Linked DNA regions of Homo sapiens: region 1 is linked to region 2. Evidence: promoter capture Hi-C in 16 types of primary human blood cells and fetal thymus (Javierre and others, 2016). All regions are on one chromosome and are shown on one strand. The core of a region is centred on a gene start or on the middle of the fragment in contact, and the rest is flanking DNA. Distances in the headings are between cores, read along the strand shown.

Region 1 (3,714 bases), core at 58-2,557, 1.5 Mb after region 2:
TGCATGCCTCATTGGTAAGATTAGCTACAGGCAGTTTTGCAGAAAGACAGAACTTTACTATGAACTCATTCTGATAGTATATTAGGTTTTTAAATAGCATACAAAACTTAGGTTTTAAGTATGTTCATATGTGTTAAAATTTTGATCACTTTACTGGAGAATTTTTTACTCCTGTGTAGTGCATAGTAAACAGTTCAATGACGGCGATAGTGGTAGTGATGTTTTGAACAGCTGTGGTACTATATTCATACACTGATTTTATTGGGCCTATGTTATAACCCAGATACAGAAGGATTCCACCCAAATTTGGGGGGGGAATGTAAAGCCATTAAAATGAACTGAAAGACTTTTTTTTGAAAAGGATATTAATGATGCCAATGCCTTTTATATCTGAATTTTGAAAAGTAGAATATCAATGAGACCCATTAGAGAACATTTGGGGAAATTTAGATGTTGAAAACCTGCCTTAATTGATTGCAAAACAGAGAGACAGCTAATGTACGACTTCAGTAAGCATTTATTTTAATGAAGAAAGAGCTAGCTGTCCTAATGATTTTGAAGGAATCTCTGCACATGAGCAGGGTTAGTATGGACAACTGCCAACATTTGTGCCTTTCACCAAATGGACATTTCTAGCAGCATGTTGCCACAATACTTTCAAGGCTCAACTGAATTTATGACAGTTTGGTTGTATTTTTCTTGGTCCATAGAAGCTGATCAAAGAATCCTCAAGTCACTAGCTAACGGTCAATTTGATAAGAACGCTAAAATTATCTGGGTAAACTGTATTGTGGCCAATTATTTTAATAATTGGAATTGGATGAATTATGTGTTAATATAAACAACTGTGCTCAACACAGTTGTGTGTAAACCCTCAAGACGATTGAGCTCAGGGGCTGTATAGACATGGACATGCTCATTCAGCAGATCACGCTAAGCAATCAGGAGCCATGCTGAGCTGCACGTAGCTCATCAACTTCAAGGTTCTGACTCATATCAACTGCCTTTGCCCCAGATTCTCAATTTTTAGTGGTAAAATCAATGTAACATATTTCCTTGGTATTTTTTTCTGATTAAAGGTAGCTCTTCTCAATAAAACTAGTTTTCTGCTTACAGGAGAGCTAGCTTAAAGAATGCCTTATGGCAGATTGTAACATTGTCTCCTGTCTTTCGAGCATTCCCCAGAACTGAAAAATTGGATTGTTTTAAGGCTGTGTCAGATTACCCCACAAGTATTTAGCACTATCACTGGAGATGGGGCAAAGGAAGGAGAGAACATTCACCACCACTCAGGATCTTTCTGGGGCAAGCTGAGCCTGTGCAGCAAATTCATTGTCATCTGAAGAAGGCCAAGGATAAACATGAACTGAAAAGTGAAACGCCAACAACCCTTCTTTCCTTGGCCCAGAAGGATTTTTAGATAGTAACTCAAGTGAATTCTTCTCCCACTGCTATTCAGTTTTGTTGTCCACAATAAATTAGGACAACTGTGGACACGGAGTGTGATCTAGTTTATCCTCCTTGTTACATTACACTCACACGGGAAGCCATCAGAGTTGAAAGTGACATTCTATTCTGGCTCCAGAAGTCATAGTAAAAAGTGAACCTTGGAATTTGTGATAAAGAAGGAACATATCTTTAGAGGAGAAATCTAATAGCATCTTCCCTCCATGGGACAGGTAGTCAATCAAACGGCATCTAAACCCAGTATGGAGAGAGAGTAAGGAGGCATACTCTAAACTCACTCCATGTGATTGAATTCCATGAACTATCCTATTTTGTTAGATCGGCTCTTGGAGAAAGAATGAGTTAAACCTCAAGACACATGCTGCACATTATATTATTTTTTGTACTTTCTTACATTATACATATACTACTATGAATTATATATTGATGTGTTTATTACAAATACACATTATATATACTAAGGAAGAATAGATATATGGTATATATATATTCTTTCATATTCTGTTTCATCTTTCATCTTACCTTGTGAATGTGTGATTTAGATAAAATTAAACATGTAAACTAGATGAGTCAGCTGTCTTTTACTCTTCCTTAATTATGCTATGATTAATCAATTGAAAGAGGATCAAGAAATTTATTTTCAGTGTTGAATAACTACAAAATTAAACAGAGTGAGAGGTGGCTGTCTAATCTGGTATAATAACCCTCCTAAGAACAGCCTTATAAGAGAGGCTTCACGATTGTCCTCAGGGAAATGTCTGAAACAGGTAACAATTCAGAAAGGGGAAGAAGCCCAATAACAAGGGAAGGCTTTCTCTTGAGACAGGTTACTGAGTAAGAGGGGGAGATTAACTAGTGTTTATTATCCCTAAGATATAGACGCTTATCTGAGTACTGAGATAACTCAATAATCAGCCAAAGAAGGAACATGCTCCCATGTCCTAGTTTCAAATTCTTGTGCCTTACCAGTCATAGCAAAAAACACTTGAAAAGGATAAAGAGATAGAAAAAGTATTCTAAGAGTTTTTTTTCCAAGTGGACAAAGTTAGTGGCCATAACTGGGTCCCATCCCGCCCCTTCCCCTGGACATATGCTAGGTAAATCCTGGATGTTTGGCCCAAGGTATATCTAGCACAGAGGGAAGAAAGTCAGAATTTATCTCTGGGAGCAAAAGTTAGTTCTAAGGAAGAAATATTTATCTTCCAGGTGGGCAAATATCTAAGGGGGAGTCCTTATCTTGGCTCATATCTGATGTGGTCAGGGATATGAATACATGAAAGAGGCAACTGTACAACCGGACTCAAGGAAGGAGTTTCCTCTGATCAAAAGGAAACAGCTCCAAAATGGAAGTGTGTTTGCAGAAGCTGCCTGGTTATGGAAATCCAAGACTAATTTATTGCAAGTCAATGTTTAGAAGTTAAACTAATTGTTACCTTCTTTGGGAACTAAGCAAGATCTCACCACGGACTAGTAGTCTCTTGTACATGTTTAATACTATATTGTACATATTATTTGTAGGTCTGTTCCCCATCCTGACTTTGAGCATGCTTCATGGAGAAACTGCCTCCCATAGACTATCTGGCTCGAGCTCCCCTGCCCTCCAGTGGATTTGGCCAATAGGAGGCATCAGCAAGAGATGAGAGGGCAAGAGAAAAGAGAAGTGAGGATATTTCTCTCCCTTCTCCCCTCCCTGTATTGGTGCCCCATGCTGACAGGGGCTGTTTCCTTTGTTACTACATCTCCTGCCAGACTACCCCTCCCTGGCTCCAGCCTCATAAACTCTGCTGAAACTCAATCTTCCCTTTGCCCTTTCAGGCCTAGGGGTATGAACAGCTGTCTGTTCAACTTGGCTCCCTTAACCATGCCCACACCTCTGTAAATGATCCCTTCATTAAACTATCTTCCCTTAAGTCCTTTTGTTTCTTGCTGTAACCTTAATGGATACACAAAGCTTCATTTGCAACCTCCTTGCCAACTTTCAGAGCTTCATATCCACCTGAGACCCTGTTCTTTTGTTCAAACACATATATTTGTTAGATGTTTGGTAGGGTTTACATGTGCAACAGTTAACAAGACAGTCTTTGCCTACAAAGAATTTACAGTCTTGTTCTGAATACGTGTAAGTAAAGAGTTCATCAAAACAGTGGGTGAACCATACATTAGGGCTGTGTGACTCTGTGCTGGGTATTTCTTCCTGGATGTCACCCTGGCCTGAATCTTCACATCCAACATTTATCATTCTGAACT
Region 2 (3,905 bases), core at 1,208-3,707:
ATAGAGGAATATGTGGAAGACACATTCATAATACAGAGTATGAATATTTTTAGATTCTCTGGTATTGGATTTAGATGTGCTTGTTCTATTTTGTAAAACAAAGAATTGCCCTATATCTTTGATCTGTGTGTTTAGATTTTTTTAGTGACAGACACCTTATAATAACTAGAAATAGAAATTCCATCTTTGGTGGTAATATAGTGCAGGGACCTGAGAAGAGAAGGTCTTAAGGTGCTGTTAATTAGCAAAAATCTGAACCCCACAGTCTCAAAGCAATTAAGGCTGTTAATTGAATATTTGGGTGCTTAGAGGATTGGCTCATATGTGGCTGGACAGGGAACCCTAGGCTTGCATACAGGAGTTACATTCTACAAATAATCATGAACAATTCAGAAGGAGCAAATATAGGCCAATGCTAGTAGTCAACTGCATATTTGAATAGTAATACATTGCTGGCTATATGCAAAATTGTCTTTTTACTGTAAAAGTAAATACTAATAATTCAATCTTTCAGCCTATCTTTTGTAAATATGGCACAGTATTTATTCATGGAAAATTCAGTTTTTTACCATGGTGATTGTACCATCCTCTGGTTTGATAAACATCTCTATGATTCACCTGATATTTTAAACACAGTTGGTGGTCACACAATGGCTACAATGTCATACTTAGGCACATTTGGGGGACAGAGGAGAAAGGCCATTGCTGATGAGCTCAGAGTGGCAGTGCTTTTATTATCCAATTCCTTCATAGCCTTTGTATGGGCTTCCTTAGCTGTGGCATTTAATTAACGTGTGAACATACTTCTAAAAAGAAACTTAAAACAAATAGAAGATTACAAAAAAGTTTTCAAGAAAGGAAAAATAAATGTTCCTTTTAGAAGACCTTCAGTGAAAAGTAGTTAATATTTTCAGTAGTGCTTATTATTTTTAATAGCTCTGGCTTTGGGGTAGGCTTCTGCTTCTGCCAGTCCCAGGCTTGCAAAGATGCAAACGACCGTCCACTAAAGAACACCCAGAATGCAGTGAGTGAAAAATGAATTTAGTTTCTCAAACTGTTTCAGTCCTCTGCACAGTTAAGGAAAAGAGAAATTATATGAATGCTTAAAATCCACCGGTTATCCTCCAAGCTAATGTTGGCCAGTAGTTTTCCATATATTTGGTTAAACCTTCCAGAAAGTGGCAGAATTGAGCGAGTTGAGGGTTCCCCCCACTTCTTTCCATCTCAGTGTACTTTCTGGAGCAGTTTGTAATTTTTTTTTTTTAAAAGCTATGAAGTGTCTTTTTAAAAAGTGGAGGTGCTTAGCAGGCAGTAAAGGATATGAGCACTGAAACTAAACATTCCCAAACGGATCATTTCCATCCTTATTTGAGGAATTATGCATTCATAAGGCTGGTGTGATTTAGGAACAGGTTATTCAAAGTGCAAATAGATATCTTCATGAATGACCAGAGCATATAAAAAACAAATTGTACTTAAGGTCCTAACTCGAGTTTATTGTGCACATATATCTTCTAAAAATGTGGAGTTAACCTACTTAGGGGTTACTGACCAGGGCTTTTAAAAGGCACAGGAACAGAGGGCTGAAGTCGTTAACACTAGACTGAGAAGCACGTTTAAGGGTAACAATGCCACCTCTTTGGATCAGAAGAGTTCCTGTTTGTTATGCAATGTGTGCACTTCATTATTTACACGATTTCACTAGGTGAATGGGAGCTGTGTACACAGCCAGGTGAGCCTGCAGCAGCGCCCCAGACTCTGACAGCGAACACCCTCTGTCTACTGCCTTCTGCTAGCCCTGCTTTGAAACAATACCCTTTTCTGGAAAAAAAAAAAAAAAAAACACAACCCTAAATCATAGCTACTTCTCTAGATAACAACCATTTTCTTTTCTTAAACGTTTTTAGGAATTAATAGAACTTTCTTGGAAAAATTTCCAAACTCGTTTCCACTGCGCTGAACGGACGATTTAAAAAGTAAATACTCAGAAGATACTAAGAAGATTCCGCTGGAGAGTCTCTTTTTATTGTGTTACGGGGTCTCCTAGCCCTCTCCTTTCTCCTACCCACGGCAGCCCATCTCTCTCCTCCAGGACCCCTTCTTTTTGGTATTTCCTGGAGTACGGATGAAAATGAATAGGTGAGCAGCCTCTGGGCTAGGCCAGGCACACAGGGGTCCCGAGTGACCTTGGGAGACTTGCGGGCTTCTGGAAGGAAGGCTCGGGCGGCCAAGCAGGAGTCGCCGCAGCGAGGAAGCGCCAGGAGGCGGCGGGGGCGACCCCGGGGGAAGGGCGGGCGGGGATGCGCCGAGGTTTCCGTGACTTGGGACTAGTCGCCCCGAGGCGCATTCTAACTGTCGGCTCCCCTGGCCCCAACGGCCAGAGAGAGAAGGGGGCGGATCCTCGCGTACCAGACACGCCCCGGTCGGGTATAAAATTCGCCAGGCGCTCGCTCCCCAGGCCACAGCCGCTCCCTCGCTCTGCTGGGGCCTCCGGACGCGCTTCCCACGCGGGTCTCTGGAACACTCGGTCCGAACGCACGCCTGCTTGCACTCACACTGCGGTTCACACCCGGAGGCGCTCTCGCACTCACACTGCCGCTCACGCGTGCTCACACTCCCCCACGCGCGCTCCGCTCCGGCTCCAGCCCCGCGCCCAGCGAAGGCGCAGGCACTGCTGCCGAGAGCGCCGAGGGGCCCCGCGGCCTTCCCATGGCGGACCTGAGCTTCATCGAAGATACCGTCGCCTTCCCCGAGAAGGAAGAGGATGAGGAGGAAGAAGAGGAGGGTGTGGAGTGGGGCTACGAGGAAGGTAAGTGGCCGCGAGTCGGGGTGTCCGGGGTCCCGCGGCGGCGTCAGTGTCTCGCCGAGCGCGGGACTCGAGTCCTGCTGCCGCTGCGCGCTCCGAGCACCCCCACGCCCCCTCTTTCCCACGGGGGTCTCTGCCACTTTCCCACTCCCCTGGTGCGTTTCGGGCGGGAGGCGCTCCAGGGAGGCGTGCTCGCCGCCTGCGCTCTTCCGCCGCCTGCGCTCTCACCCGGGAGCCTTCCGCAGGGCTGGCGTTCGCACCTGCTGCGGTCCGGAGGGCGGGCTAGCCTCCAAGCCGTGGCTGTACCTTTTATGTCTTCTGAGTAGTCAAGAAGAGCAGCGGTACATTTTACTAAACACCTGAGGAAGACAGTGTTAGCGTGAAGAATTCGTTTTTGGCTTGGAGACTTTGGGGAGAAAGTGTTTCTGCCTCTGGTCTTTTCGTGAAGCCTGCTAGCAATGCTCAAGTCTTTCTAAAACATGTCCTAAATTTCAGACTGAATCATTGGGTTTGGCGAGAAGCGGTTGACTTTCTGAAAAACTCGAGTTTCCTAGATTTATTCCTAAAGACCTAGGGCTCCTATTAGAGCCAACCAGTAGTGCTGATGTTTACTACATATGTTGAAACCAATATAGAATATATAATTTTAATTATAAAAAATTTGGAAAGACTATGGGAATATGTATGTACACAGATATATACATATGCACACTTTAAAATACTACACTTGCATTTCTGATAAGGGGCGTCTATTTACTAGCATGAGAGTTAGGGTTCTGACTGTCACTAAGTATGTTGAAAGTTACAGCTGTTTCCCAGGTACTGAACGTAATTGAACTAATAAGCAGAAGAAATTGTTCTGGTATTCTTTTTTCCTAATCACTTAAAAATGACCCAAATTTCCTAGAATCATAAATTATTATGTCTTTGTTGACAAATACAAATAGAATATTTTGCTAGTCCGGGATTTTGTGTATGGTATTTGATAATAACAGATCATTCAAATAATGAATGCAAAAACAAATAGAATTACCATATTTCATCTGTATAGTGATGGTATCATTACTCTCTTCATGATATCAAGGGTTCTAAGTGTTTA

What was found. Contacts are between HindIII fragments. The CHiCAGO score rates a contact against its expected background, and 5 or more counts as called.
Region 1: a fragment that was not itself captured here is called in contact with the fragment with the promoter of CA8 in region 2 in 1 of 17 cell types (naive B cells); the score reaches 5.1 in naive B cells.

What each region holds. Positions count from the first base shown.
Region 1 is chr8:58,740,096-58,743,809 of GRCh38, reverse strand. It overlaps LOC105375858 (a long non-coding RNA gene), which reads left to right. Exons shown (of 3, transcript XR_928924.3): 3 at 2,986-3,098. Among named protein-coding and RNA genes, the nearest start is that of NSMAF, 82 kb to the right of the region's middle. The HindIII fragment of the contact is 4,226 bases long and covers 1-3,420 here.
Region 2 is chr8:60,279,952-60,283,856 of GRCh38, reverse strand. CA8 (carbonic anhydrase 8) reads left to right here and starts at 2,457. Exons shown (of 9, transcript NM_004056.6): 1 at 2,457-2,809. The coding sequence starts at 2,710. RefSeq lists a silencer at 2,274-2,482 and an enhancer at 2,475-2,981. The HindIII fragment of the contact is 5,420 bases long and covers 1-3,905 here.